Linked DNA regions of Homo sapiens: all the other regions are linked to region 6. Evidence: promoter capture Hi-C in 16 types of primary human blood cells and fetal thymus (Javierre and others, 2016). All regions are on one chromosome and are shown on one strand. Each heading gives the region's core, a stretch centred on a gene start or on the middle of the fragment in contact. The rest is flanking DNA. Distances are from core to core; before and after follow the strand shown. Region 1 overlaps PNRC1-DT (PNRC1 divergent transcript). Region 2 overlaps MAP3K7 (mitogen-activated protein kinase kinase kinase 7). Region 3 overlaps UBE2J1 (ubiquitin conjugating enzyme E2 J1). Region 4 overlaps LOC101929004 (a long non-coding RNA gene). Region 5 holds the start of IBTK (inhibitor of Bruton tyrosine kinase). Region 6 holds the start of SNHG5 (small nucleolar RNA host gene 5). Region 7 overlaps IBTK (inhibitor of Bruton tyrosine kinase).

The links. The method cuts DNA at HindIII sites, captures the fragments that hold promoters and counts their contacts. A CHiCAGO score of 5 or more calls a contact.
Region 1: a fragment that was not itself captured here is called in contact with the fragment with the promoter of SNHG5 in region 6 in 2 of 17 cell types (activated CD4 T cells and non-activated CD4 T cells); the score reaches 5.1 in activated CD4 T cells.
Region 2: a contact is called between a fragment that was not itself captured here and the fragment with the promoter of SNHG5 in region 6, in 1 of 17 cell types (neutrophils). The highest score is 5.6, in neutrophils.
Region 3: a fragment that was not itself captured here is called in contact with the fragment with the promoter of SNHG5 in region 6 in 2 of 17 cell types (total B cells and activated CD4 T cells); the score reaches 6.3 in total B cells.
Region 4: a fragment that was not itself captured here is called in contact with the fragment with the promoter of SNHG5 in region 6 in 1 of 17 cell types (neutrophils); the score reaches 9.9 in neutrophils.
Region 5: a contact is called between the fragment with the promoter of IBTK here and the fragment with the promoter of SNHG5 in region 6, in 8 of 17 cell types (naive CD8 T cells, activated CD4 T cells, total CD4 T cells and 5 more). The highest score is 13.8, in naive CD8 T cells.
Region 7: a contact is called between a fragment that was not itself captured here and the fragment with the promoter of SNHG5 in region 6, in 1 of 17 cell types (activated CD4 T cells). The highest score is 7.5, in activated CD4 T cells.

The regions. Positions count from the first base shown.
Region 1 is chr6:89,076,460-89,080,179 of GRCh38, forward strand. PNRC1-DT (PNRC1 divergent transcript) reads right to left here. Exons shown (of 1, transcript NR_187250.1): 1 at 3,703-3,720. Among named protein-coding and RNA genes, the nearest start is that of PNRC1-DT, 2.3 kb to the right of the region's middle. RefSeq lists an enhancer at 3,397-3,486. The HindIII fragment of the contact is 971 bases long and covers 1,974-2,944 here.
Region 2 is chr6:90,575,978-90,579,745 of GRCh38, forward strand. All of the region lies in intron 1 of MAP3K7 (mitogen-activated protein kinase kinase kinase 7), which reads right to left. Among named protein-coding and RNA genes, the nearest start is that of MAP3K7, 9.2 kb to the right of the region's middle. The HindIII fragment of the contact is 817 bases long and covers 1,990-2,806 here.
Region 3 is chr6:89,344,025-89,347,921 of GRCh38, forward strand. The region is part of intron 1 of UBE2J1 (ubiquitin conjugating enzyme E2 J1); the gene reads right to left. Among named protein-coding and RNA genes, the nearest start is that of UBE2J1, 6.7 kb to the right of the region's middle. The HindIII fragment of the contact is 2,139 bases long and covers 922-3,060 here.
Region 4 is chr6:89,140,488-89,144,690 of GRCh38, forward strand. LOC101929004 (a long non-coding RNA gene) reads right to left here. Exons shown (of 4, transcript XR_942766.4): 2 at 3,260-3,346. It also overlaps a transcript of PM20D2 not described here. Among named protein-coding and RNA genes, the nearest start is that of PM20D2, 3.5 kb to the right of the region's middle. The HindIII fragment of the contact is 3,442 bases long and covers 1,185-4,203 here.
Region 5 is chr6:82,244,884-82,248,993 of GRCh38, forward strand. IBTK (inhibitor of Bruton tyrosine kinase) reads right to left here and starts at 2,861. Exons shown (of 29, transcript NM_015525.4): 1 at 2,679-2,861. RefSeq lists a silencer at 2,494-2,663. The HindIII fragment of the contact is 2,262 bases long and covers 1,756-4,017 here.
Region 6 is chr6:85,676,077-85,680,352 of GRCh38, forward strand. SNHG5 (small nucleolar RNA host gene 5) reads right to left here and starts at 2,657. Exons shown (of 6, transcript NR_003038.2): 1 at 2,618-2,657; 2 at 2,060-2,112; 3 at 1,878-1,956; 4 at 1,719-1,799; 5 at 1,348-1,416; 6 at 931-1,115. SNORD50B (small nucleolar RNA, C/D box 50B) reads right to left here and starts at 1,583; the gene lies at 1,513-1,583. It overlaps SNORD50A (small nucleolar RNA, C/D box 50A), which reads right to left and starts at 1,292; the gene lies at 1,218-1,292. RefSeq lists enhancers at 2,238-2,297, 2,468-2,627. The HindIII fragment of the contact is 13,479 bases long and covers 2,500-4,276 here.
Region 7 is chr6:82,228,095-82,232,438 of GRCh38, forward strand. IBTK (inhibitor of Bruton tyrosine kinase) reads right to left here. Exons shown (of 29, transcript NM_015525.4): 4 at 3,624-3,748. Among named protein-coding and RNA genes, the nearest start is that of IBTK, 17 kb to the right of the region's middle. The HindIII fragment of the contact is 1,716 bases long and covers 1,627-3,342 here.

The DNA.
Region 1 (3,720 bases), core at 1,209-3,708, 3.4 Mb after region 6:
AGTGAGTTGTTATCGCACCACTGCACTCCAGCCTGGGTGACAGAGTGAAGCCCTGTCTCAAAAAAGAAAAAGAAAAAAAAATCTAAGTAATAATAGGTAGAAAAAATGGTAATAAAGTCTATATAAAGAGGAAAAAAGACATTCAGGGTAGGAGGAAAGAAAATGACATTTCATACAGAGAGAGGGAGAGAAAGAGGACAGAGGTAAAATACACGAGAGACAAAGGTAGATAGAAGAGAGAGAAGTGGAATTTGGAGTTCTGCTTAGTGTCAATGCGGGTAAGCTGCTTATTTCATAAATGGGCATTACCTCTTTTTTCTGCTATTTAATACCTAGTTTACTTTCCAATCTTTTATTTTTCTTCTAACCTCCTCTAAAGATTAGCTTAACAAAAATAAAATCAAGATGTACACTGGAGCAAAAAGCTTCAAGAACTCTGAGAATTCTCCTAAAATTTCCTTTACCCTTGGAATATCTTGTTACCTCCAAGTTTGGCCTTTTGGGCCCAAGCAAAAGGATCTGATTTTTTTTTTTTTTTTTTTTTTCCCTGAGATGAAGTCTTGCTCTGTCGCCCAGGCTAGAGTGCAGTGGCGTGATCTCGGCTCACTGCAACCTCTACCTCCCAGGTTCAAGTGATTCTTCTGCCTCAGCCTCCCAAGTAGCTGGGACTACAGGCATGCACCACCACAACTGGCTAATTTTTGTATTTTTAGTAGAGACAGGGTTTCATCATGTTGGCCAGGCTGGTCTCCAACTCCTGACCTCAAGTGATCCATCCACCTTGCCATCCGTGAGCCACTGCACCCAGCCTGATCTTTTTCCTTTATATCATATAGCACAGCTAACACTATATGTTTAAACCTGTAACGCTTAGGTTTAAACATTAAAATTAGACTTTACTAAAGACTAAGGGTTTACAAAGACTACCCACACAGAGTAACATTAAATCCAATCATCTGGCTTATAAAACCTCGACCTCTCTCTTCTAAGTGCCCCATTTCAGCTCCCATTCTGTTTCTTAGTGGTGGGCACCATTTTAGCAATCTCAGCACCCATCACCCAGGTGGTCACAGCTGCAAGGTTACTTTTCTTACAGTACAGAACCCAGGGCAAACATGAAGCCTACACTTAAGGCCTCAAAATGATAAGTTATACACATAATTACTCCAACAATCACCCAAGAAATACACATAGACAATAATAGGTATCTTTGACCAAGGGCCCCACAGAGCTGGCTACCAATGACCAGCTCCCTGAAGGGTAAATTATTCTCTAGGACAGTATGATATTATCCCCAGATAAAGTCAAGCCTAAAATCATGGGATATAGTGAAAAGAACACTGGACTAGGCATCAGGAGTTCGAGTTATTCCTACCTCATTTTGTGAACCCCCCCCCCCAAGCAAGTTACTATATATTTAAATTTATTTACACCATACGTTAAATAGGACCTCTCTATATCAACCTTAAAGTGCTAGAGTAAGAATAAAATGAGATGACAGATGGAAAGTGCTTTGAAAAAGTAGATTCTTTTACAGCTCTGGATGTCCATGATTCCCATCCATCCAATGAACATGAGCACTTACTATGCATTACATGTTGCAGAAACAAAAATGAGTAAAATTCAGCAATTGGAATGAAATGGAGTTTTTTTGGTTTCTTTTTTGTTTTTTGAGATGGAGTATTGCTCTGTTGCCCAGGCTGGAGTGCAGTGGCATGATCTCGGCTCACTGCAACCTCTACCTCCCAGGTTTAAACGATCCTCCTGCCTCAGCCCCCCTAGTAGCTGGGATTACAGGCACATTAGCCTGTATGCCCAGCTAATTTTTATATTTTTAGTAGAGACAGGGTTTCGCCATGTTGGCCAGGCTGGTCTCAAACTCCTGACCTTAGGTAATCCAGCCGCCTCGGCCTCCCAAAGTGCTAGGATTACAGGTGTGAGCCACCACGCCTGGCCTGAAATGTAGTTTTAAAAGCTTATAAGGTTGACTGGGTTTGGTGGCTCACTCCTGTAATCCCATCACTTTGGGAGGCTGAGACAGGCAGATGGCTTGAGCTCAGGAGTTTGAGACCGGCCTGGGCAACATGGTGAAACCCTGTCTCCACTAAAAACACAAAAAATTAGCCAGGAGTGGTGGTGTGTGCCTGTGGTCCCAGCTACTCAGGGGCGTGGGGGGCTGGGGTTGGAGGATCTCTTGAGCCTGGGAGGCGGCTGTTGCTGTAATCCGAGATCATGCCATTGCACTCCAATCTGAGTGTCAGAAAGAAACCCCGTCTAAAAAAAAAAAAAAGTTTATAAAGTGATTGGGAAGCATTTTTCTGGATATGCAATCTGTCCAACTTTGCCATCAATCATAAAACGTTTCATTGCTTACTAATTGCTTACTACTCCAAAGCTGAAAACTATTGTAGAGGCGGTGAGGATACAGAAGTGTAAGATTACTGTGGTCTTCTAATAATGTAGAATCTAGTGTGGCAGGGCTGGACGCGGTGGCTCACGCCTGTAATCCCAGCACTTTGGAAGGCCGAGGCAGGCGGATCACGAGGTCAGGAGATCAAGACCATCCTGGCCAACAAGGTGAAACCCCGTCTCTACTAAAAAATACAGAAATTAGCTGGGCGTGGCGGGTGCCTGTAATCCCAGCTACTAGGGAGGCTGAGGCAGGAGAATCTCTTGAACCAGGGAGACGGAGGTTGCAGTAAGCCGAGATGGCGCCACTGCACTGCAGCCTGGCCACAGAGTGACACGCCGTCTCAAAAAAAAAAAAAAAAAAATTAAAACTTTTGTCTTGCAGTACCTGGACTGGAGATCAAATTCTGATGTTAACTTACCGTTTGATCTTTGACAAGTCCTTTAGCCTTTCTAAGCCTGTTTCCCCAGCTGTAAAATGGGAATAAAATACAGTACTGTCCCTCCAAAAAGAAGCTGAGGCAAAATCAGGCCAAGCTTGAGGACTGCAACCCAGGACCATAGATTCAAGCTGCCCTGAATATACACTCGGATTAGCAAGTTACAAGTAGGTTTTTAAAGGAAAAGAGGCAGCTCCTAAATTGTTTACCAATTTACATTAAAATATCGTGGGCTCTTGACTAGCTATACATTGTTCTTTGTATCTTAAATTTCAGAAACTTAAAGATAATGCGTAGGCAGCTAATCAGGAACAAAATGCCTTTAAACAATTGCCCCAGGCATTAGTAGTGAAAGGAAGAGAATGACAGCCTGCCTACTTCGCAGAGCTGAGGTCTGATCTATTTTTCTTAGTACCTATTCGTAAGGGTTGTTGTGAGGTTAAAGTGAGACAATCTATGTAAAGAACAGTTCCTGGAACATAAATGCTTGATAAATTATGGCCACAATTCTTTTTTGTGGTTGAGCAGTGCGGGGAGATCGCGAAAAATTTCTATTTACGCGCAGCTAACAAAATACTCTATGTTGCAGAGCTGTTTCACTTTCTCCCTTTGAGACGCAAGCCGGCTTGCCGCCTCCTCAAGTAACCAGGCACAATGTTCTGATCCCAAAGTCTCACAATCCTTCAAGTATGAAATCAGTAAAAACTCCAACTTCCATTTATGGATTTACGGAGAACTTTTTATACATCGAGGGGCTAATTCAATCAGTAAGTCACTTTGATTTTTACTCTGATCACCGAGACTAATAAGCAGCGATGCCGAACCAAGTAAATGAAAGAATCGTGAGCCATACTTCAGTAGATAAAATTTA
Region 2 (3,768 bases), core at 1,148-3,647, 4.9 Mb after region 6:
AGAAAATCGATATACAAACAAAAGATGAGTAAGAAAAAAATCAGACTTTAAAAAAATGCCACATAGAACAACGACAACAACAAAAAATAGGATGCTATGACCAAGAGACTAGTGGCAGCTCCAGGCTGGGCAGTTTGAAAAGGCCATATAAAGAGGTTACGAATCTGACATTTGGATGACACAAGGCACCAATCCCAGCACTTTGGGAGGCTGAGGCAGGCGGATCACGAGGTCAGGAGATTGAGACCATCCTGGCTAACACGGTGAAACCCCATCTCTACTAAAAATACAAAAAATTAACGGGGCGTGGTGGCAGGCACCTGTAATCCCAGCTACTGGGGAGGCTGAGGCAGGAGAATGGCGTGAACCTGAGAGGCCGAGGTTGCAGTGAGCCGAGATCGCGCCACTGAACTCCAGCCTGGGCAACAGAGCTAGACTCTGTCACACACACACACACACACACACACACACACACACACACACACACACACACAGAAGAAACAACTAATATAAAGCTTTGCCCTAAGGGAAAAGAAAAACCTCACTACCTTATTTACTCCAATATGTGAGCCCAATCTAAGGGCTATGCGCTATTTTAGGCACTGATGATACAAGAGTGAACAAACCAAATCAAAATCCTTGTTCTCATTGTTTATATTCTTGTGGAAAAAGACAAATAAAAAGGAAGGGAGTTGTGTGCTAAGAAGAAAAGGAGTATAATTGTGTGTGTATACACACATGTATGCACTCTGCCTCACTCCAATTTTAGACAAGGTAATCACTCAAGGCCTCACTGAGAAAGGTGACATTTTAGTGATGATTTAGAGAAATACTTGGGAGTGTTTGGTGTGGCTGGTGTATAGTGGAGGAAGGGAAGAGTGATTGTAAGGTAAGGCTGGAGGGACAGGCAGAGGTTGGATCCTGAACGGCTCTACCTACCATAAAAAGGAGTTTGAATTTCAGTCTAAGTGCAATGTGAAGGAACTGAAAAAATTCAAGGAAGTAAGGATGGTATGTGACATTAAACAAAATCATTATAGCTCTTAAAGAAAGGATTGTAGGGAAGCTAGGATATGTAAATAGAGACCCATTAGGAAGCCATTACAGCAGTCCAAACAAGCAACAATAGCTACGAGGGCAAGGTCAATGGTAGTGCAGAAACTGGGCAGATCTGGGAAATGTTTTAGAAGTAGAGTCAATAGGGTTTGCTGATGCTCTGCATCCAGGCAGGACAGGTGTAGAGGAAAAGAGCTGAATCAAGGAAAACACCTAGACTGGACAACAGTTTACTGAGGGATAAGAATGATGCAGATTTTTTTTTAATAACTCAGAGTTTGGTTTTAGTCATATGAAGTTTAAGATGCCTACTGGATATCCAAGAGGAGATATCAAGTAAGAAGGTAGAAACGTGAGTGAGAGGATCTATGGAGAAGTCAGACAAAGAGATACAAACTTGGGAGTCATTAGCATGTAGTCAGTTTTTCTAGTCAATCAGTTGGAAGAGGTAACCAAAAATAATATGGAGATAGTGGAGTAGAGGAACTGAGCTTTGAAGCAGTTCAACATTTAGATCACAAGAGAGGAGAAGGAATGGGCAAGGAACAGGAAGGAACAGTCAATATGGTAGCAGGCAAACTAGGAGAGAGTCAGAGAAGCCAAAAGAAAAAGACGTTCCAGAAGGAAAGCAGATATAAGGACAGTGAAAGCATATGCCAGTGGCTCTAAAAGTGTGGTCTCCGGTTCAGCAGTATCAACATCACCTGGATATTTATTAGAAATATAAATTCTCAGGGTGCAACCCAGAATTATAGAGTCTGACGGTAAGGCCAAGCAATCCATGTTTTACCAAGCCCTCCAGGTAGTTTCAATGTTTGAAAATCACTGCATTCAAGGCTAATCCATTAACAACAGATAATAAGGCAAGATATTTCAGTGGAAGCCATCACACAGACCAGAGAGCTCTCCCTTGCTGTTTATATTATTTGTGGAAGCTTTCCACAGCACCCATATGTCATCTTGGGCAGGAGAAAGGGAAAAGGAAAATCCTTATGGGGGAAGACTGAATTTTGAAATAACCGAATTAATCTTGAAATTTCTGAGTACAAAGATACATAAAAGAGGTAAGTATTACATGGAAATTATCCTTGTTGTGGCAAGATTAAATGCTTTTCTCTACTGAGTTGAAAAGAGGAATGACTCATAATTAAACAGTAGTTTATAGAAAAATAGTTACATTTCTTAACTTTTAAAAACAAGTAAGAAATACCGGCAGGAGGACAGGAGTTTGTTTTGTTTTGTTTTGTTTGTTTTTTTGAGACAGGGTCTCACTCTGTTGCCCATGCTGGAGTGCAGTGGCGCGATCTCAGCTCACTGCAGCCTCTGCCTCTCTGGCTGAAGTGATTCTCCTGCCTCAGCCACCCCAAAGTAGCTGGGATTACAGGCTTGTGCCACCACACCCAGCTAATTTTTGTATTTTTAGTAGAGTCGGGGTTTTGCCATCTTGTCCAGGCTGGTCTTGAACTCCTGAGCTCAGGCGATCTGCCTGGGTTGGCCTTCCAAAGTGCTGGGATTACAGGCGTGAACCACTGCACCTGGCCAGAGACAGGAGTTTTGTGCTTTAAACAAAAAAGAGTATAAGCATATATCCATAAGAGTAGAAGATAGAATAATCAGATGATATATACAATGGATAAAGTTGTTTCCTGGTATATTTTGCTCTCCTTCCCCCCATTCTGATATTAGCTCTCTAAGGGAGAAGTCTGAATGGGAATTAGAGGTGGCAGAAGGTGCTACGTAGCATAAAAAAAGCTTCCCAGGGCATTCCAATATACTTCTCATTCCTTTCTTCAAGAAATAACATTTTAAAGAAATGCAATTTTATTATCTGTATAACGATAATGCAACCTTATATTTAACAATATATTACAACTTGTAAAGCTCTTTCTTACAAATATGATGGAGTTTGAGTGTCACCATAAACCCATGAATATATAGGATTTTTTATTCCTACCTTAGAGAGAAGAAAACCAAGGCTCCAAGAACTGAAGTTACCTATTCAAGGATCATGTAATTAGTAAATCAGAGTCAGCTTTCAGGTATGTTTCATGGTGCCAACAAAACAGAGGCCTGCCAGGATTTGGTCCAGTGCCTGGTACAGAGAAAAATGCTACTCAAAGGCAGCAAGTATGATAACTAACAACAATTAACTTTTCAAAAGATTATATTCGAATCAGATTTTAGCTGTTTAGAAGGGGGTTTTAAAAAGCCCTAATCTCCTTTAAGAAAAGAGTGAAGTTGGGTTAATAGAAGGCTTGTGTATAAAGGGCTTATGGCAGTCTCCAAAGATGGCTGTCAACAATCCCTTCTCTGCCTGTCTCTGCTTAAGAGTTCTATTTTAGCCTCCTTCACTGATTCTTCCTTCCTCTGTCCAAACCTTAGATGTTGCTACTTTCCAGGGTTCTGTCCTTGGCCCTTTTGTTTCTGAATCTGTTCTCTAATCTCATGGATTCATACTCTCAAATCTCTCCCATCCAGGTTTTTTGCCCAAGCTCAAGATATATTTAAAACTGCCTTTGAGACTAAGGGGTCCTACAGGCTTATTAAGTTCAATATGTCAAATACTGACTCCATTATCAGTCCCTCACTTGTGTATATTGTAGTTTACTTGACCTTAGTTAAGTAGATTTACAGATATTATCTCATTTTAATTAAGTCAATTCTCACATTTTAGAAAGGTTTTATTTAGAAAGTACTTATTGCAACTTGAGC
Region 3 (3,897 bases), core at 741-3,240, 3.7 Mb after region 6:
GGTATTTATTGAAGTGCTTTTACAGACATTAATAACTCATTTAACCCTTAATACAACATTACTAGATAGGTATTATTTTTATCCCCATTTTCCAGATGAAGAAGCCGAGACACGGAGAGATTATATAGTCACACAGCTAGTAAATGACAGAGATGGGATTCCAACACAGGCAATTTGGCTCTACCTGTTAAAATGTCTTTATTAACAAAAAATGTATTCTCTGGATCTCATGCTCGGTGAACAGGAAACACCTCTATATCCTCCAACTCTTGGGACTTTCCATCCACTATCTTGCATTAAATGAATGGACTGTCCCCTGAATTCACTGACTCTCCAAAGCCCCGATGAAATTCCTTCTTGAAATGATCCTTCAGCTTCACTAAAACCTCCAGTCCACTGACCCCACAACTTTCTTCACCCCTCCTATACTTATATTCATTTTCCTCTTTATCCACACCCTTGGCTCTTAGGAGTCCCTCTTGTACACTCCCTTAATAAAATCCAACTGTGCCTGACCCAACCCAACCATCTTATTTGCTGTCTATACCCAAACAGCTGAGCATCACTGAAAGGAGGAAAAAAAGTCAGAGAGGATGGTGCAGTAATGCCATTACAAGTCATTACCAACAACCTCTACTGGGATACAATGCCACCTAATGTCCCCACATTTCTCTAGTAGGCCTTCCAGCCTACTCTTTCCACCTAGCACTCCAAGATTATTTCCCACCTAGTCTAATTTCTCCTCTCTTTCAGTTAATGGCACCCAGCTTTTTATCTCCCTGATGAATGACTGCTAGCAGGAGCTGCTCAGATGCCTATCACAATCTACAATCCTATCTGTATCTGCACCCTCTGTCTTCTATTGGCTCTCAAAATTCAATCCTTTGATATGCACTCTGGATCCCAACCCCTCTCATTTCAAGCTTTTGGTGCTAAAACATGTCAGGATACTGCAGTGGGATGGCTGAGTTAGGGAAAAGGCTTCTCAAAACTGGGTTTGCAACCACTGATGTAGCTCAAAAGAGAGGTATGCACCAGATGCTGGGAGGACAGGCTGGGCATCTAACTTTAGAGCAAATGGAAGAGAAAAGGAGTCAGGTACTGAATGTGAAAGAAATAACAGTAGAAACTCCCCAGGTAGATATGAATAGGAAGAGGTAATAATAAAAGTAAAATGTGTAGAGGCACAGGTTGGAATGTTATGGGGAGAGAGATTAACTGAGAAGGAACCCCTACATGTATATAACCACAATGGTTTGGTATGTATCAAGACTTTTGCATAAAATTGCATTTGAGGCCAGGCGTGGTGGCTCATGCCTGTAATCCTAGCACTTTGGGAGACCGAGGCGAGTGGATCACCTGAGGTCAAGAGTTCGAGACTAGCCTGGCCAACATGGTGAAACCCTGTCTCTACTAAAAATACAAAAATTAGCCAGGCATGGTGGCGGACGCCTGTAATCCCAGCTACTCGGGAGGCTGAGGCAGGAGAATCGCTTGCACCCAGGAGGTGGAGGTTGCAGTGAGCTGAGGTCGTGCCATTGCACTCCAGCCTGGGCTTCAGAGAGAGACTATCTCAATAAAACAAACAAACAAACAAACAAAACCAGGCACGGTGGCTTAGGCCTGTAATCCCAGCACTTTGGGAGGCCGAGGCAGGTGGATCACCTGAGGTCAGGAGTTTGAAACCAGCCTGACCAGCATAGTGAAACCCCATCTCTACTAAAAATACAAAATTAGCCTGGTGTGATGGCACATGCCTATAATCCCAGCTACTAGGGAGGCTGAGGCAGGAGAATCGCTTAAACCCAGGAAGTGGAGGCTGCAGTGAGCTGAGATCGTGCTGTTGCACTCCAGCCTGGGCAACAAGAGCGAAACTACGTCTAAAAAAAAAAAAAAAAGCCCTCCAGGCCGGAGGGCAGTGGTACGAACACAGCTCACTCACTGAAGCCTCAACCTCCCAAGCTCATGCAGTCCTCCCACCTTGGCCTCCCCAATAGCTGAGACCACAGGCATGCACCACCATGCCTGGCTAATTTTTAAATTTTTTGTAGAGCTGGGGTCCCCCTGTCTTGCCCAGGCTGGTCTCGGGCAATCCTCCTACCTCAGCCTTCCAAAGTGCTGAGATTACAGGCGGGAATCAGCATGCCTGGCCAAAAAAAAGTTGTTACTATCCTACTTCACAATTATTAATATTCTTTTCCATTTCTTACTCTGAACTAAGCCCCTATATGCAGAGACTTTGTTCACTGGATCATCAACTATTTCTTGAGTTCCTACTAGGTACTAGATGCTACAGCTTCATGCGTAAACAAAATATGGCTTTGGTCACTAAAGACTGACGGCTGGGAGGTGCAGTCAATACAAAACAGAATGATAAATGCTATATTAGAAATATGTACATACTGAGACACCCTCTCCCTCCAAGTCTAGAGACTGGGCTTTGGTCAATTCCCTGAACACACTTTACCTCCCCTCCACTCTCAGCCTTTCTATACAGCTTTCCTCAGGGCCCAGGCTGCTCCGGCCCCATCCTCCGCCTCACCGTCTAGTCTGGCTACCCTAGACCTTTAAGTAACTTCTCAGGAATGTCTCTATGACACCTTCCCTGGTTGCCCCCTGCCCCCCACCCCCTACAGTGCTTGGAGATTTCAATCTGGGCAGATCAAAATCTCTGAGGCGTCCTAGGGAGGGGTAGAGACTAGGAATGCTCTCTGAATTACTCTGGTTAGGTTTAGAAACCACTGCCCTAGAGACCAGGTTGAGTCTCCTTGCTCTATGCCATCATAACACTGTATTTTTCCTCTTATGAAGTTCATCTCACTTGTAATTACTTGTTTAATATCTGTTTTTCCTGCTAAGCAATAGTAATGACAGTGTAGCTGTAGCAGTACAGTCTCCTCAGGGCTTAGCACATGGTAAGTACTCAAATATTAGTTGAATTAAATTTTACTATCTTCTCTCAACATAGCTCTCAGAATCCGATTAAAGGCAATGGTTTTTAAACTTACTTAATAAAACAATTAAACTTATTTAATAAAACAAAATCCTTCATTCAAAGAAAGCTTAATGAGAACCCCAACAGGTGAAACAAAAACCACAGAGCCGCTTTGGTTGCAGAGGCCAGTGGAAGGGCCTGCGGACTATCTACTCCCTGTCCTTCCATTTCACTCCTGAAGGGACCCATAGAACAAAGATGGAAAACCCTGCTTTAAAGCCACATAAACATATCATTCCTTTAAGTTAATATTATTAGATAGAAATGCAATTATGGAAGCTGTTATGAAGTTAATTAGTTTGGAGATGCCAAAAAGATTGTTTTTCCTTCATTCCTCGTCAACTGGCTGAACTCAATAATGATTAAGCTGAAGTCAGATTTTATGTCATTCTATACCCTTATCGCATTTTCTCTGCCTCTTCCCTACTCAGTTCAGTTCAACAGGAGAGAAGAAAATAAACACTCAAAACTTGTACCTGGATATTATGAGAGATGTATAAAGGGTCAGAATTGTTATAAGAATGTATCTGTACCAATCCTGTAAAGGAACAATCATTGGTTCAACAGCTAAATAGCTAATTAGTTCATAAGTCACTCAGGCACATACCATGTAAGAGCTAAGGTCATGTAGCCAAAAGGTGAGATTAGTCTCTTGTTTCCATAAGCTATTTTTTTTGCAAAAATAACATATATTATGAATGCTTCAGTGAAAAGAAACAGGGACTCGATTTAGAGCTGCATTAAAATTCTGACTCTGACATTTTGTAGCTCTAAGTCCTTGAACAAGTCACTTGATCTGATGTTTACATCTGTCAAATAAGAGTCAATAATTTCTCCACAAAATTCTCCTTTCCTTTTCACCCCTCCTTCCTGCCCAGTCCCTGAGTCATTAAGGTTGAAAA
Region 4 (4,203 bases), core at 1,656-4,155, 3.5 Mb after region 6:
TTGAGGGATCAATCTCTTCAAGGACTTTAAAAGCACTGCACCGGGCCCAAGCTCTAGATGTTGTATAGAGGACCAGGGGCAGTCAAAGTTCTCCACCCATTTTCCTAAGCCATAACGGTAGGAGAGAAATGTTCTTGTTAACCACAAGCTGGGTTACGTCTTTGCAGTGTTGTTTTGTACACACTGTGGGGAATCAGGGCAAAGGAAAAGCCTATCCTCTCAGAACCTCCCTGTCCTCATTTCCAGGAATAGTGATGGAGAACAGAGCAGCTAATCTCACTGCCAAGAGAAGGGAAGCCAAAGGGAGCCTCAGGTCATCAGGTACCAGGACATTCAGGGCTTTAAAGTCACTGCCTTCACTTTGTGGGCCATTTGAAGAAATCCGCACAGAACTTGAAAACGAGTTGTAATAGAATCTTGCCCAGCAGAAGCAAGGGTCTGTCAGGTATTTTTGCTCATTCCCTTTTTGTTTTTCAGGGTTGTTTCCTCAGCTTACATTTTTCCCTTTCAACTCACTCACTCCCTGGATGGTTTAATTCCCCTCTGGGTATACCATTACTCATACTAGCTATGTAGAAATGCACTTTCCTTGGTGCTCTGCTGGTCTCCTCCTGGACAACTGCATCTACCTCCTCTCCACGTGTCTAATGCACATCCATCAATTTGCCCCTCACTCTCTTATTTCCCCTATTTTGTTTCATGGCTTTACCATTCACTCAGCTGTTAACCCGAGAAACTTCAGTTCTCTTTCCCCCTTTCTCTGGAGCACCTTCTTCACCTAAACAGACATTCAGTGAGGAATTAAGTCTGGCCATTTCTGCCCACGGAATGTTTCTGGAATCCTTGGACTTTGCAAGAGCCTTTTATTTATTTTTAATTTTTTAAATTATTTTTTAAAGACAGAGTCTCACTCTGTCACCCAGGCTGGAGTGCAGTGACACAATCTTGGCTCACTGCAACCTCCACCTCCCAGGTTCAAGTGATTCTCCTGCCTTAGCCTCCTGAGTAGCTGGGATTACAGGCGCCCGCCCCAACACCCAGCTAATTGTTGTGTTTTTAGTAGAGATGAGGTTTCACCATGTTGGGCAGGCTGGTCTCAAACTCCTGACCTCAAGTGATTCGCCCATCTCGGCCTCCCAAAGTGCTGGGATTACAAGCGTGAGCCACCACGCCTGGCCTGCAAAAGCTTTTAACTTATCTCAGACCTAAGTCTGTTTCCAATTCATCTTCCAAATAGTCATCAATTATTCTTGTAGAACAAATTTCTGATCTTGTCTCTCTCCTGCTTAATAACATCCAATAGTTTAGCCATTGTCCAAGTTTTATTTTACTTTGAGACAAAAGTCTCACTCTGTTGCCCAGACTGGAGTGCAGTGGTGCAATCATGCTTACTGTAGCTTTGACCTCCCGGGCTCAAGCGATCCTCAAACCTCAGCCTCCAGAGGAGCTGGGACCACAAATGTGTGCCACCATGCTTGGCTTATTTACTATTTATTTTATTTTATTTTATTTTTTGTAGAGTCAGGGTCTCCCTATATTGTCCTGGCTGGTTTTGAACCCCTGGGCTCAAGCTATCCTCCCACCTCAGCCTCTTAAAGTGCTGGGATTACAGGCATGAGCCACCAAAACCAGCTAAAGTTGTAATTCCTTAGCAATGTGTTGTACACTTCCTCTATGTCCCTTCATCCCCAATCAAATTCACCTTTCTGCTCACCTACTCTCTTAGTTGTCTGCTTTCTGCCATATGACAACCAGCTCTTCCAACACCTTAGCCCAGATTGATTTTACATGTGCTATCTAGTGCGTGTTACGTGTTTGTTTCAGCTAGAGAAGTTTCTGGAGTTAACCAAGTTTGCATGTGTGTCTGGGGATGCTTAGGAGAATGTTGTAAATGACCAGTATACCAAAGTGACACTGTGATTTGCTTCTTCTCCATGCTGGCAGCAGCAGTCCTCAAATCGTGCAGTGGCCAGCATTTTGTTCAGGAGAAAATTGCTGTAGTTCCAAGTATTGTTAAACTGAAACGATGTAGGCTGGATTCACATGCACTTTTGGAAATATCATATATTTTGAAGGTATTATAAGTTTGATTTTTTTGGTGAAATATCTGCACTCTCTCCTTGGATTAAATCATTTTTGCACTTTTTATTCCTTTCCCCCACAATTATTATTATTATTATTATTTTTTGAGACGGAGTCTCGCTCTGTCACCCAGGCTGGAGTGCAGTGACGCGATCTCGGCTCACTGCAAGCTCCACCTCCCGGGTTCACGCCATTCTCCTGCCTCAGCCTCCCGAATAGCTGGGACTACAGGTGCGTGCCACCACGCCCGGCTAATTTTTTGTATTTTTTAGTAGAGACGGGGTTTCACCATGTTAGCCAGGATGGTCTCCATCTCCTGACCTCGTGAACCACCCACCTCGGCCTCCCAGAGTGCTGGGATTACAGGTGTGCGCCACCGCGCCCGGCCCCCCACAATTATTTTTGTTTGTTTGCTTTTCATTCCTGAAATCCTGCACTGAAGCTCTCTGGTACTTCTATTTACTTTTTCTCTACCTTTAATTTTCTTCATTTTATTTTTCATTCCATTCCTTTTTCTGTTTTCAAAAACTTTTTTTTCTCATTTAGCTCATGCTTTGCCATGAGCTCATGCTTTGCCATGTTGGGGATTTTATTTTATTATTTCTATCTTAATTCAAAGAATATAAACCATACAAAAGCCTGCTGCCTTTTCAAAAGGAGTTCTGAATCTGAAGCCCAAAATAATACCCAGTATAGTTGTACAATTTGGCTGTATTTTAGTTGCTTTTCCAGGGTAAAGGAAATTTTTGATCTACTCTTTCCACCACAGCACTCATTTGTCATGAATGTCCTGTTCTCAAAGTTATTGAGTCAGTTGTGATGACAGCTGGTTTTCTAAGCAGCCAGGAAAGAAGAGGAATCTTTATATATTTTTTCCCCTTTTTTCTCATCAGGAGCCAAGAAAGAACATTTATATACTTTAAAACCAGTCCTCAAGAGAGAACTATCTGCACTCCTCTCACCCCCCCAAAAAGGTTATACATCTTAATACTAAATTCTGGATATTGTATTGTTTCCTCAGATCCAGCACCAGCTAAAGGAAGGGAGCTTGTATACATTTTTTTTTGTTTCTAATAAAAACATACAGGTTCCTTACCAGTAGCACATAGATAGGGTAGACAGTTGTATGAATATTATGGGTACAAATGAAAGTAATAGTAAGAATTTATGAGCTGACCAGATTCTAGAAAGCCACATGTCCAACTCCATCAGCTTCCAGAAGCAATTCTTCCTGCCCCCAGCTCCACATAAAGGACTGAGAAGTCTAGGAAGAAGCATAACAATGTCTATTGGTAGTCAGTGTCGTTTAATGGTTAATTGCTGCCATTATTCAGTTAGTTTATTAGATTCAAGAAGAATAATCAGCCAACAAATATTTATTAACACAGAGGAAATGCTGACCATAAGATGTTAGGTGCTGGGGAATGCAGTGGGAAAACAAAAGAGTTTAAAGCCTGGAGGGGAAGATAAACGGTCAGCAAGTTATCACAGTTTATCAAATAAATGAATTCAAGGGTGCAAAATACCATGAGCAAGAAATACAAGGTGTCAACAGTAGAAACTGAATACATACGTGCCTGTGGGCATGTATACCCACCCACCCACCCACATATATACACAAGGAACAGAGCTTGAAATGAATCTGTCTTTCCTCTACCTCAAGTGGCAGCTTTGTTAATTCCTGCAAAGCAATATAAATAGCAGCTTCTATATGAAATTATATGCATCCCTTTTCTGTTGCTGTTTATTGATGCCTGAGGAGGGCAAACATGGGTTCTACTGATGTCAGCAGGCAGAGTTGCTGCAGTAAAATTTATTCAAAATGAGTGTTGTGGGTTCTGATTTGAATAGATAAACTGGAGATGCATTTATGAATTTGCATGTCTGTTTACACAAGCAATAGACCATGGTGGCTGAAAGTCAGCCACTGGAGGCTGACTCTGGCTTCTGTTCTACAGTGGGTCCACTACTTACTAGCTCTATAATCTTGGACATACATCTGTAAAATGAAGATAAATAACCACATTAACCACCTCATAGTTTGCTGTGAGGATTAAATGAGTTAACAAATGCTAAGCCCTTGGAACAGTGCCTAGCACAGAGTAATTGCTCTACAAATGT
Region 5 (4,110 bases), core at 1,611-4,110, 3.4 Mb before region 6:
GCTATTTCTGCTACGTTACACTGTCTTCTTCAGCGCATCCATAGTAGGTCACAAGGCATTGGGAATACAAAAATAATTAGGACCTAAATATTTTAGATAAAATAAAATACAGGTTCATGGATAATACTCAGGTGGATGCATAGCTAGTTTAACATATGTACTAACTGAACAAAACTTATGATCTATTACACAGTTCCTATTATCAAAGGGTCACAGTTTGGTAGAAGAGAGTAATTTTATTTAGGCAAGTAACTAAAACATATCATAATTATAAACCTATGGTCAAGATAAAACAAGTGACACATAGGAACGGGGAGTGCAGAAGAGGGGTCCAGGTAAGACTTTCTACAGGAGATAAACTATGTATAAACTAAGACTTAAAAGATGAGTACTGGCCAGGCACAGTGGCTCATGCCTGTAGTCCCAACACTTTGTTAGGCTGAGGCAGGCAAATCACTTGAGCCCAGGACTTTGAAATCAGCCTGGGCAACATGGTGAAAGCCATCGCTACAAAAAAAAATACAAAAATTAGGCGTAGTGGCACATCCCTGTAGTCCCAACTACTCTGGAGGCTGAGGTGGGAGGATCACTTAAAACTGGTCAGTCAAGGCTGCAGAGAGCCAAGATCATGCAACTGCACTCCAGCCTGAGCGACTGAGCGAGACTCCTTCTAAAAAAAAAAAGAGTACCATATGTGTTGGCCTGATAAATTCTGGGTGAGAGCACATTTGAAGCAGAAGGGATAGTAAATATAAAAGAACTAGAATCATCTTGGTCCATTCCAAAATTTCTAAATAATTCAGAAGACAGAAAGAAGTGAGGCCTAACATACACACAAGGATAGACAGGATTTTGAACAGCCTTATGTGCCTTTTCTTAGAGATTTAAAAAAAAAAGGGCAGGCAATCCAAAGACATACTTAGGATCTTGAATTGACAAGATGTGGTGGTAATTCCCAGGTTTCTGGCTTGGAGAACAGATAGGGAAACTAGAAAGAAGAGTAAGGGGTCAATACTTTGGAAGTGAGTAAAGCAAAACAAAATTAAACAACGGAAAAAACACACAAAAATTATAGGTGAAATTTTGTTTTATACATTATACACAGTGCTCTACATAAATATAATCCTTATTATTGCCCCTGTAAATATGATCACTTTCATTTTCTGATGAGGAGATTCATGTGAAAGTTTAAAAAGCCTACCTAAAATAATACCGACAGAAAAGTGCTCTTGATCCCACCTATTCTATGCTACCAAACTGCTCTCCCAAAAGGCAGTTAGAAAAATTTCAATGCAAGTAGTATAGTGTAGTAGAAAAAAGTACCATGGAATTCAATTCAAAATAATTGAATTCAAAAGCAGTTTGGTAGGGCAGCTGGAGACTCAAGCGATTCTGCCTCAGCCTCCCGAGTAGCTGGGATTACAGGCACACATCACCATGCCTGGCTGATTTTTTTGTATTTTTGGTAGAGACGGGGTTTCACCAAGTTGGCCTCGAACTCCTGACCTCAAGTGATCCGCCCACCTTGGCCTCCCAGACTGCTGGGATTACAGGCATCTTTTTTTTTTTTTTTTTTTTTGAGATGGTGCCACACTCAGTCGCCCAGGATGGAGTGCAGCGGCGCGATCTCGGCTCACTGCAACCTCCACCTCCCGGGTTCAAGCAATTCTCAGCCTCCCCAGTAGCTGGGATTACAGGCGTGAGCCACCGCGCCCGGCCTAAAAAATTTCTTGAAGTAAACTCTGGTTTGACTAAAGCTTCTGCAAATATTTGCAAATGTAATTATTTTTAGAAACCAGTTTTGTCCTCATCTACCTTGCCTCAATTTCTAAAACAAATAAAAGTTAAGGAATTCAAAATACAAAAAGAGAAATGATCAAGAGGGGGCTGGCAAGCCTGTGAATTTACACCACTTTATGGGCACTGAAACACTACTACTCATAAAAGTCATATCCTTTCAGTATTTCTGATAAATTTCAAATGGCCTACTTCGAGGCATAAGTTAAAAGGTGCTACATGAATCTCTGGCTAACACAGTCAAGTTTTATGAACTACGTTGGAAAACAGGAGTCAAGGACGGCCTATGTTACCTAATTCGCAGCTGAACTAAAACTCTTTGAGCCAGACAGCTCTGCCTGTTACAAAAACAAAGGGCCTGTCTTCTCTGTCTCTCTCAACCCTCCACCCTCCAAAAAGAATCAGTTCCTTTTTACATAGCAATCAATGTCCACTTATCAGATTTCACGACCTGCTTCCCCAGAGTCAGTATCCCCAGGGTGGACTCAAACTTGTGACTCCAGGAAGGGGATAAGGAACATGAGCGCCCACAGGAATGGCTTCAAATCCAAGACTCGAAGGAAAGTGACACTACATAACTATCACAACTAGGAATGCAATGTCGCTGGAGGGCGTGTCCAGCAGGACGGGAGCGTAGCGCATCGCCGGGACAGGCCATTCATTAGCTGAGGGGGGCGGTAGGGACCCTGGCCACTCGGCCCTCTCCGCGCCGCCTCGCGCGAAGCCCGGCAGCCTCGGGGCCACAGAGTCCCCTCCCCACGGTCCCCCCGCGCCGCCGTCCGCAGCCACCCGCACCCTCCAGAAGGCGAATACTCTCCCCCTGCCCCCGGGCTGAAGGGAAGCCGCACCGCACGGTCGGGCAGCGCCAAGCCCTCCCTCACCAGTCGCTAGATGAAACTGCGCCGGTGGATTCCGCAGGGTCCACATAGAGCCACAAAGGGACTCATCCTCAGTGAAGGCAATAAGAGAAACCGAACGGCGCCAGAGGGGCCAGTCCCCAGACCCGGGTCAGTTCGGCAGGCGGCTGCAATACAGCCGCTACTACAGGAATCGGGAACGGGGATGTAGAGGAAGGGCCCGAGCGGGCGGTTCCCAGTAATAAGGCGGGCGCTGGTTGGCTGGGGCTCCTGTATGTCTCTTGATGATTGGCTGGTGCCTGCCCAGAAGGTTTCGCGTGGCAGCACCTCTGCCATGGCCTTTTCCCTGGCGCCCCAAAGGAACTTGACCTCGCCGGCCTTGGGGCCGCTGACTCAGGCCAGGGGCGGGGAAAAGAAAAAGGCCGCAGCGGGGAACTCTAGGCCAACAACGGTGATGGGAGTGTCCCTTTCAGGCCAGCCATCTCGTAGTTAGAAACGTCTCTCTAGGTAGCTGGAGACTCGCGGGGGAGGCTAAACCCGAGTGGAGAAGGAGACCTGGCAGGATGCCTTGGACACCCGGTCGCTACGCAGCAGAAGCCAAGTGCATAGGCGTCCTGCACAGAAGAGTTTCCTCCCATGGCCTTAGCAGTGGGGTTACTGCAAAGCCAAAGGTGTAGTCTCCGTAAACCCAGCCTCACCCCTCTCTGGATCTCCATACACCCGGATTATCTGGCAGTCACTCCCTTGGTCAGAAGGCGTCACTGCCCTCTTAGATCACCACCGTAGGACTAGCTGCCGACCCGGGTCACGCCACTCACTGCCTGACACCAGGCTTACACTAGGCTTTTTCCACTTGAACTCTGAATCTAAAGGCCATTTAGAAAGTGGTCAAGTGAAAAATGCTAGGAGGGACAGTAGCCAATAATCAATACTAGGTTACTGAATGGGAAACACACTGCTGCTGAATGCCTAATACGGTAAGCACTCAGTAAATGATTGTTCAAGGAGGTGTAGTGTGACTCAAAACAAACGACACTAAGAATCATGAGTTGGCTGTACAGCTCTGCCACGTTGAGTTTTACAAGCCACTGAGTCGACCTCATCTAATCTCTAAAAGAAAGGAGTTGCGCATGTCTTAATGCCCACTGAGCTCTGCTTGCTCTCTTTTGAAGCCTTTTTTGTGGGAGGGTAGGTTACTAGCCCAAAGCCACACAGCTGCTTAGCGAAAGAGAAAGGGAGACTAGGACCCAGCCCTCCTACTGCCCTTCCCAGCACATAATTGTTTCTTTGCTCTTTATTCTTAATGTCCTTCTACAAAACAAAAACCAGTTTGTAATGTCAAAATTGAGTGGTTTTGAAAATAAGCTTAAGTTGGCCGGGCGCGGTGGCTCACGCCTGTAATCCCAGCAATGTGGGAGGCCGAGGCGGGCGGATCACGAGGTCAGGAGATCGAGAC
Region 6 (4,276 bases), core at 1,407-3,906:
GCTTGACTTTTCCTTGGCATCTTGTGCCACTGTTGACAAAACGGTTTTATTTCAGGAGTCTTGGCAGAGCCTAGCACAAGCCAGTGCATATAAATGTGGAGTACTAATTTCGATAGATAATGTGACATATTAAAAAATCTATTGGGAGGCAAGGGAGGTAGAAGGAGCTACAGGAAAAGCGGTCAGAGGGCTCCAAAGCAACCAGTCTATTTCACAACTTTGTCTTGTTTGCCAGCTTTAACAAAACGGTAATGGCACTCTTCCTTGAAAACTGGAATCTCAATAGTCTTTTACCACATACTGTATAACAGTGCCTGGCCCTATTCTAGGCACTCTTGAACTAATGAAACACAGATCTTAAAATTTTATGCAGAAGTTGTGGGAGGGGGAGAAAGACAATGATTAACAGAGTTTTAAGTACGGTAGGTAAGGGCATCAGAGATCAAGGGTATAAACATAAACACAAGCAATGCTTTCAACTGCCATCTTACACACACTACCTTCATAGTGAAGGTACATTTTCTATCTCCAAACGTTACATGCCTAAGGCTTCTCTCTCATTTTATTTGGTAGTATCAGATAGCATTATGTAACCCATCCTGCCAAATGACCTCTTCCTAGATTTTAGCAAGCCTGAATGTCTTTACCAGATTGTTTTATCAGTAACCTTCCCTCATGACCATACTTAATAAACTGCTATTATTATTCTATTGTGCTCCTTATTTTCTGTATCTCATTCCCCCATTTCTCAACTTAAGCATCCAGGCTTTCAAAATTATAGTTACATCAAAACTAAATATTCCATGATTTGCTTAGTAACAATTACTTCTAATTCCTGTCTCTCCACTCTTACACTGATCCAAAAACCCTTACATTGTACCCTGCACAAACCCGAAACATTCACTCACAGTAATTTGATTACAAGGCTGGTTAGTGGATTTTCCATTTAATGCTCCCCATGTTATTTCAGGACCTATTTAAAAGTAATAACAAAAAGGAACATAATCCAAAATTACATGTTTTATTTTCATGTTTGTAAAACGAAGAGCTTTTTTCTGGATGGTTTTCTTATCAGCTTTTCACACAACAGTCAAGTAAACCTCGTGGCACTAGCCCTAGAAAAGGAAAAACACGAGATTCTTACAAGACTACAAACATTACAACATATGTAAAAGCATTAAAAGTATTAAAAAAAAATATTGTCCTTATAACGGTCCATCTCAGAAGCCAGATCCGTAAAAGTTTTTTTTTTTCAACAGAAGTTCAGGTTCGGGATAAGATCATCACAGATAAGACCAAGGACACAATATTCACTGATCTCTAAGCAAACAGAAAAACTCCACTTACAGAAATCGTTGCAACTTTGGAACTTCCAAGACAATCTGGCCTCTATCAATGGGCAGACAGCGACCCTCACTGTTGGCAGAAAAAAAAAAAACCCAGGATTTTATAACACAACTGTTATAAAATCACGGCAACAAAATTTACTCCACCTCTGAATTACTGGTCTTAATCTCAGAAGCCGAATCCGTACTTATTTTTCTTCAGGTTATCAGCTTCGGGATAGGTTTCATCATTGATTAGACCAATCAGACCTTGTATATGTACACATAATACATTAAACTGCACTTCTGTGACACTGACTACAAACCAAGGTAATGCTAAAAGGCAAGTATTATAGTACAAATACTACAGAACTTTTAAGCCATACAACCTACTTCAAAATGAAGCTGCTAGTCAGTCACATTCGACATTCATTATCTTCACTGGCTACTCGTCCACACTCAGAACGCTGTTCACTGACAAAAAAAATTTGATTTAGTCTAGGTGTGGATTAAATGCTATGCTCAATCATAAAGTACTAAAACAACACATACCTGTTAAAAGTGTCAGGTTTTAACCAAGCGATTTTCCATTAAATATTCTCCCAGATGTTCTGGAAGTTTTTTCGTGTATCTAACAAAAAAAAGTAAATTTCAAACGATGCAACAGTTCCTATTCCTGTAAATCAACAGGTTTACTCCTTTAGTTTGGAAACTAAGCTTAACTAAGCTCTTACCTTTGCATCTTCAGAGCTGCTCCACTGTGCCACTGAAGACAGCGCCATTGTTCCTGCGGGAAATCGGTATTTAAGCATTCTCGCAGAAATGTCACACTCCAAGGCGTTTTTCCACACAAAACCCTTCCCCTTCATTAATCCGAATTGCACACAACGCCGCCTTCGAACAGCTCAGTTTCAATACAGGGTCGAGGCTTCCCATTTTAAAACAACGCCGACGGAAGGCCTTCGCCATTTTAGTAAAGGCCCTTTGCTGTTAAAACTAACCCTCCGCCCCAATTAAGGTGGTTTTTCCGCCGCCGCTCAGGCACATGCCGGAGGCCAGCAAGTTCGGCGCCCGTGGCCGATCAGCGGTTCCTCACGCCAAAACTCGGAGCCTGTGGCCGTCACGACTCAACCTCAGTACATGTGGCAGTCCGGCCGCACGTTTCCCACGTGCAAGCTTTCAACTCTCAGCACTCTAAACTCTTCACTAAGATGTCTTCACAGGATTAAAGCTCTTAACTCGGCCTGCGCCACCATCTTTTGCTCGGATACTAGCCCGCAATACCCACTCACCTACCACCCGCCCAGACGCTCGCGAAGGCCGACGTAAAAGACCGAAGTGCGCAGCCAGTAGCTCCTTATATAGCCTCCCGGAGTCAGAACGAGGCCGTCCCGCCCTCTCGCACCTATTGGACATGGAAGTAGACAGGGGTGTGGTCGCGAATTAGCGGGAGCGCGCGCGGTGGCTCTTCTGAGGCCCGTTCCGCGTTGTGGAGCGCGCCGCAGGCCGGCCGCGCGCCCGGCCATTTCCCGGCGCGCGCCCGCAGGCGCACTGCGAAGCGTCTCTTACGAGTCTGGCGGCCGACTTGGCCCTACGTGGCGCGGGTGTGGCGCCAGAATTCAAACAGCTGCAGTTGGAAACGACGCTTTCGCCTGCCACGAGCCAAGTCCGTCCAGGACAGATTGGGTCCGAGAGTGGACACAAGTTTTGCAGCGCAGGGCGGCCTCAGCTTAGGACCGATTCGAGAAGCTGGGCTGGCTGGCTGGCTGGCGCTGGGCTGTAGTGGGCCCCCAGCGGAGGCCGCCGGAGGAGCGGGCGAGCCCTGGCCGCAGCACTCCGGGAAAGGGCAGTTGGCTGGCAGAAACGCTTGGGTGAAAAAGCGGAAAGCGCCACGTGAGAACAGCCCCGGCGTGCGGCCCTGCAGGGCCTCAGGGCGGGCATCAAGGCCCCATGGGGATCCATTCCTCCTCACGCTTCCTCGTGCCAGGCATCCGGTTACACTAAACGTGACCATACAAGTCTCCCTCAAACAGCGAACGTGAGGTTCAATACTCCATTTCGCAGAGGAGAAAACTGAGGCTTAAAACAGCCAGGTAATTTGCCTAAGGTCACACAGCTGAAATGCTTTGCTAATTTTTAACTTCTTTGTACTCAATTAGTTATATTGAAAACGAGAGAAAGATTAATTTGAGAAGTATCCCTGAATACTTTATCCAGACGACAAACACAAAATTCAAAAGCAGTGCTTTGATTAATTAGCATGTTCGAGTGAATATGTCTGCGTGTGTGTGTGTGCACACGACATTTGAACATTTCAGTATTTGAAAATTCAGGTCGTTCTTCACTTCTATATTTCAAAGCACTACTTATTAAAGTTGTTTATGTGTGCATTTGATTACGGTCCGATTCTGCTAGAGTGTGGGAGCAACACATCTGATTTCGTGCTCTGCTGTTTATTTTTTCTTAGAACAGTGCCTAGCATTAAGTAGGTTGTCGGTAATGGTTAAATGAATGAATGAATGAACAAATACATTCGGTGGCTTTTTAGAAAATTAGAATGAAGATCAAACTTCACATTCAAAGATAGTAGTGAAAAGCACTTTTCTCTAACAGGAACCTATATGATGAAGTATTGACTGGGCCGGGCATTTTGTCGGTTTTTGTATTACTTTGTAATGTCTTACATAAATTTGCATATTGCTCATAGTAAATAGTAAAACAAACAATACAGTACAAAAGGATATAAGAAGCAAAGTAGGCCGGGTGTGGTGGCTTATGTCTGTAATTAGAGCACTTTTGGAGGCTGAGGTGGGAGGATTGAGCCCAAGACCCTGTCTCTATTGTATTAAAAAAATTTTTAAAAAGAGTTAACAAAAAAAGCAAAGTGAAAGTATCTTTCCACATGCCTGGGAATCTTCTCCCTAGTTGTACTCTTCAGCAATACCACTGTT
Region 7 (4,344 bases), core at 1,235-3,734, 3.4 Mb before region 6:
AGCTCTGATATTCATTATACTCACTTTACCTTAATAATATTTTTAAAATCTTCTCATTTTTAAAGATTGTTTGCATTTATATTTCTTACAACATCTGCAAATATTTCTAACTTAGGATATAAAAAGATGAGTAAGAAATAAAGAAACCCTAAAATCATTTCCAGAAAGTCAAGGTCCTTTGGAAAACAAAAAAATTATAAGCTAGACAAGCTCTAAATATTTACACATACCCTAGACCGCTCGGAATTTTGTAAGCACAATATAGCTATCAAATAAAAAAAGTAATGCAAAGATTATTATCTCATTTAGCTGTACCACAAATACCTAAAAAGTTTAAAAATAAAATCCAAATTTGTATTTTAAATTTACAAGTTGTCAGTGAAATTCATTTTATGAAATAAGAAAGAATACATTTCATTCAATTTTATATTAAATATTAGAATGCCATCCTACAACTGCTGACTTCTACTACTAAACAACAGTTGCAATACTAGACAGTTTTAAGTTATCCAACTTTAAAAACCCCAGACTTTTTTTTTTTTTTTGAGACGGAGTCTCGCTCTGTCACCCAGGCTGGAGTGCAGTGGCGCCATCTCGGTTCACTGCAAGCTCTGCCTCCCGGGTTCACGCTATTCTCCTGCCTCAGCCTCCCGAGTAGCTGGGACTACAGGTGCCCGCCACCACGCCTGGCTAATTTTTTATATTTTTGGTAGAGATGGGGTTTCACTGTGTTAGCCAGGATGGTCTCGATCTCCTGACCTCGTGATCTGCCCGCCTCAGCCTCCCAAAGTGCTGGGATTACAGGTATGAGCCACTGCGCCCAGCCTAAAACCCCTGAATTTTTAAATAAGAACTGAGCATGGATTTTCGCTTTTAATTATCTGGAATATATAATACTAACATTAATAATCTCTGTCTCATGGTAGTTAATTAATTTGGTACTGTATAATATAGAATCAGCCCCTTTTCAATAACAAATGGGGCTCTCTATATAACTGGTACTCAATTAATATTCCCATACTTGCTTTCTCTTCCCTGACTGAAATTTATACTGATTTCTTTCCTTCAAACCTACCCACTGTGCTTGCTTCACCCTCATTCTGTGGTAAATAAAATCCCTTAGATCCTTAATACCTTCACAAAACACGCCCACTGCCTTGCCTTACCTGAAATGTGGCTTTCTCTTTGAGTACACTAGTTCACTCACAACCCTGGCAAATGGAATATGCTCAAATATTCCAAACTATATATTTCTTTGGATCAGACATTTCAATCACCCTCTGATTTCCTAATGCCATCATGATTCCCTCACTCTTGTCTTTAAAATCCCTGCTCCGTAACAGCTCATGAAATAAAGGTATATCATGTACTACCTCAAAAAAGGAAAAACAGGTGTCTTTCTTGTGCCACAATTCCAATCAATCATTAGTGGCTGCTAATGGTTGGATTATCATTTTAAGGAGGAGTCTGAGGACCCACTCAAGCTCAGCATGAGAAAAAAAAAACTGACTAGCATGTCTGCAAAAAGCTCTAGACTAGGTGAGCAGCTTGTACACTTGCTGCCCCTGCTCTGATTTCTCACCATCTTGCTCACCCCTCTCACATTCACTAAAGACTTGGACACCAAGCTTGATTCTCGCCCATCACAAGTCCTTTCATTATCCTAAGTTCCCTCCACATCTACAGAGAAGACCCACAAGAATATTAGCTTTCATGACACCATTCTACTCCCTACTTCTCTAGCCACTTTTCATTCCTATATGGGTTTTTATTCCTGTTCTCTCAAAATTTAATATTCTCTAGAGTTTAAGGATTCTATTGCTTTTTTTGTTCAATTGCTGGTTGTGATGCATTAGGTTGTGACTTTTAGTTTAAAAAATAGTGTTCTATGGAGCCCTAAATATAGTGGTCATATTATTTATCATGCAAACATTTTTGAGAATGAAAGGGGATACTAACAATTACACTAGGAAAATAATCATAAACCAGAACTGTCCTGGGCAAACTAGGGATATGTTGTCAAAGTAGCTCTAAAAACTGTCTAAGAATTCAATCTCAGGATATAAACTAAGTGTTGTTATGTATGTCATATATAAATAATAGGTGAAAGTTGGAAAGAGCCAGTACTATAGTGATAAAAACACTCCAAGCTCATATTCTGGATCAAAGAAGTTTTATGAACTTCAAAATGCAGAAAGAATATAACTAGGAAGTTGTAGGAAATGTAAGTTGAAATGGTAATTTAGGAAGACTGAAAAAGTTCTTACATTCCAAGCCACAGAGTTTGGACTTTATCCAAAGGTGACTTAGTAGATAAACACATAATTAGCTCTTTTTTAAGACAAATAATTCTGGAGAAGAATATTATTGGGGTTGAAATGAATGGAGCCAAAAAGTCAAATTAGGACACTGTTGTCACTGTCCAAAAAAAGAGCTTGAAAAGGACATGGCACCTAGGTTCATGAGACAGAAAAGAACTAAATAGACATGCTCTGAGGTATCATCTTCAGGATTTAGAATTTGAGATTTATAACATTAAAAATTGAATAGGGTAGTTTAGGAGTGGCAAAAATAACACTTCAGACATTCTAAATTTAAATATCTTGAAAGAATACCCACAGTACAACTGAAATAAAGTTCAAGAGAAAGACTGGGGCTAGAGATACACATACATACACACATATACACAATGTAATACAGAAAGATTTGTCAACAGTAGCTGTATCTGGGGAAGTAGAAGATATCATGCATTGTAAGGATATAAGACCACAGACCAAATCTTTACAATTGTATCTATTAAAATTTTACAATTACTTACATTTAAGAACTCAGGTTCACAAAAAGCATCACTCGTGCCTAAGCATCTAAGGGCAAATTTTTGAACCCCACACTTCCAAAACATTGCTTATCTGTCTCCATAAGTGATGAAATTTTAGTTCTATCTACTATCCAAACTGAGAACTGAGACTTAGACATTTAATTATTTATTGCTTGTCAGTGTGAATACAAATAATTAAATAGAATGACTGGCAGTTTACCAGACCCTCAGTTAAAAAACTCTATAGCCTTTCCAGACTGCTGTCATCCAACTTCACATAAGATTAAACATATTCTCTTCATGATAAATAGCTTGGAACCTAAAAACATTATTTTGTTACAAAAAATTGCAAGAAGTGTGTTGTTTTCTAAATTGAAATTATTTTATTTTTTAATGCCACCAAAAAAAAAAGAACTGTTGTTCACTTATCAAAAATAACACTGAGCTTCAACAACAAATTCACTTGAGAAACAGCTTACAGAATTGTAATGTTTGTTAAATAGAAAAGCTAGAAAATCAAGAGAAGCTTTACCCTCTTAAATTAAACTACTATCTGTATAACATTTTCTAATTTCTAACACTAATTGCACAAATATCTTATATTTTAGGGTATTTTACAAAGTCTAAATATAATTAAGGCTAACAATATCTAAAATAAAATTAGCAAAGTTCTATTGATTGATTTCCTCATTAAAATGTTACTGTACCTGAAACAAAGTTATGTAATCCACATGAAAAGCTGAACAATCAAATACAAAAGTTCTTTCTCATCTCTAAAAGTATATAGATTGTACTTCAAAAATACCTGCTTGATATAAATCCCACTCCTGGAGAACAGATCCACCAACTCTGGATGATGTTTGCTATTCTGGCTTCCATGACCCAGGGTAAAATTTGTATTATCGCCCCAAGTATAAACATCTGTAGGATCTAAAATAAAAATTAGTTTTTATACTTTTTTATATTTTAAAACACATATAAGAACTAATTTAACTACAATATTTAGAAAGATGCCAACGCTCTTCTCTGAATGAATATATTAATATGATATTAGGTAATTCTAGAAATAGAAAATCCAAATCATAGTACAGGCCTGTCTCAATGCAAGCAATCAAACATTTGTTCCTTGCTTCTTTTTTTTTTGTTGTTGTTTTTTTTTAATAATTGAGACAAGGTCTCATTATGTTGCCCAGACTGGTCTTCACCTCACGGGCTCAAGTGATCCTCCCACCTCGGCCCCCCAAAGTGCTAGGATTACAGGCATAAGCCACTCTGCCCAGGCTGTTTCTTGTTTCTTTAGCAGCTAAAGTTTAACTGCCAAATGAGTAAAACACCACCGGCCATATCTACTTAGTTTCCATGAAAATAATATATAGAACTGTATCAAATGTAAGATATTATTAATCCACACATACAAAGGTTCTAAATGTTGCAAATGTGATATTACTCTTTGTACAGGAACACTAACTTTCAATACTTTGTTTTTCATAGACACAAAATCACACTAGTGATTAGGGTAAAGCCCA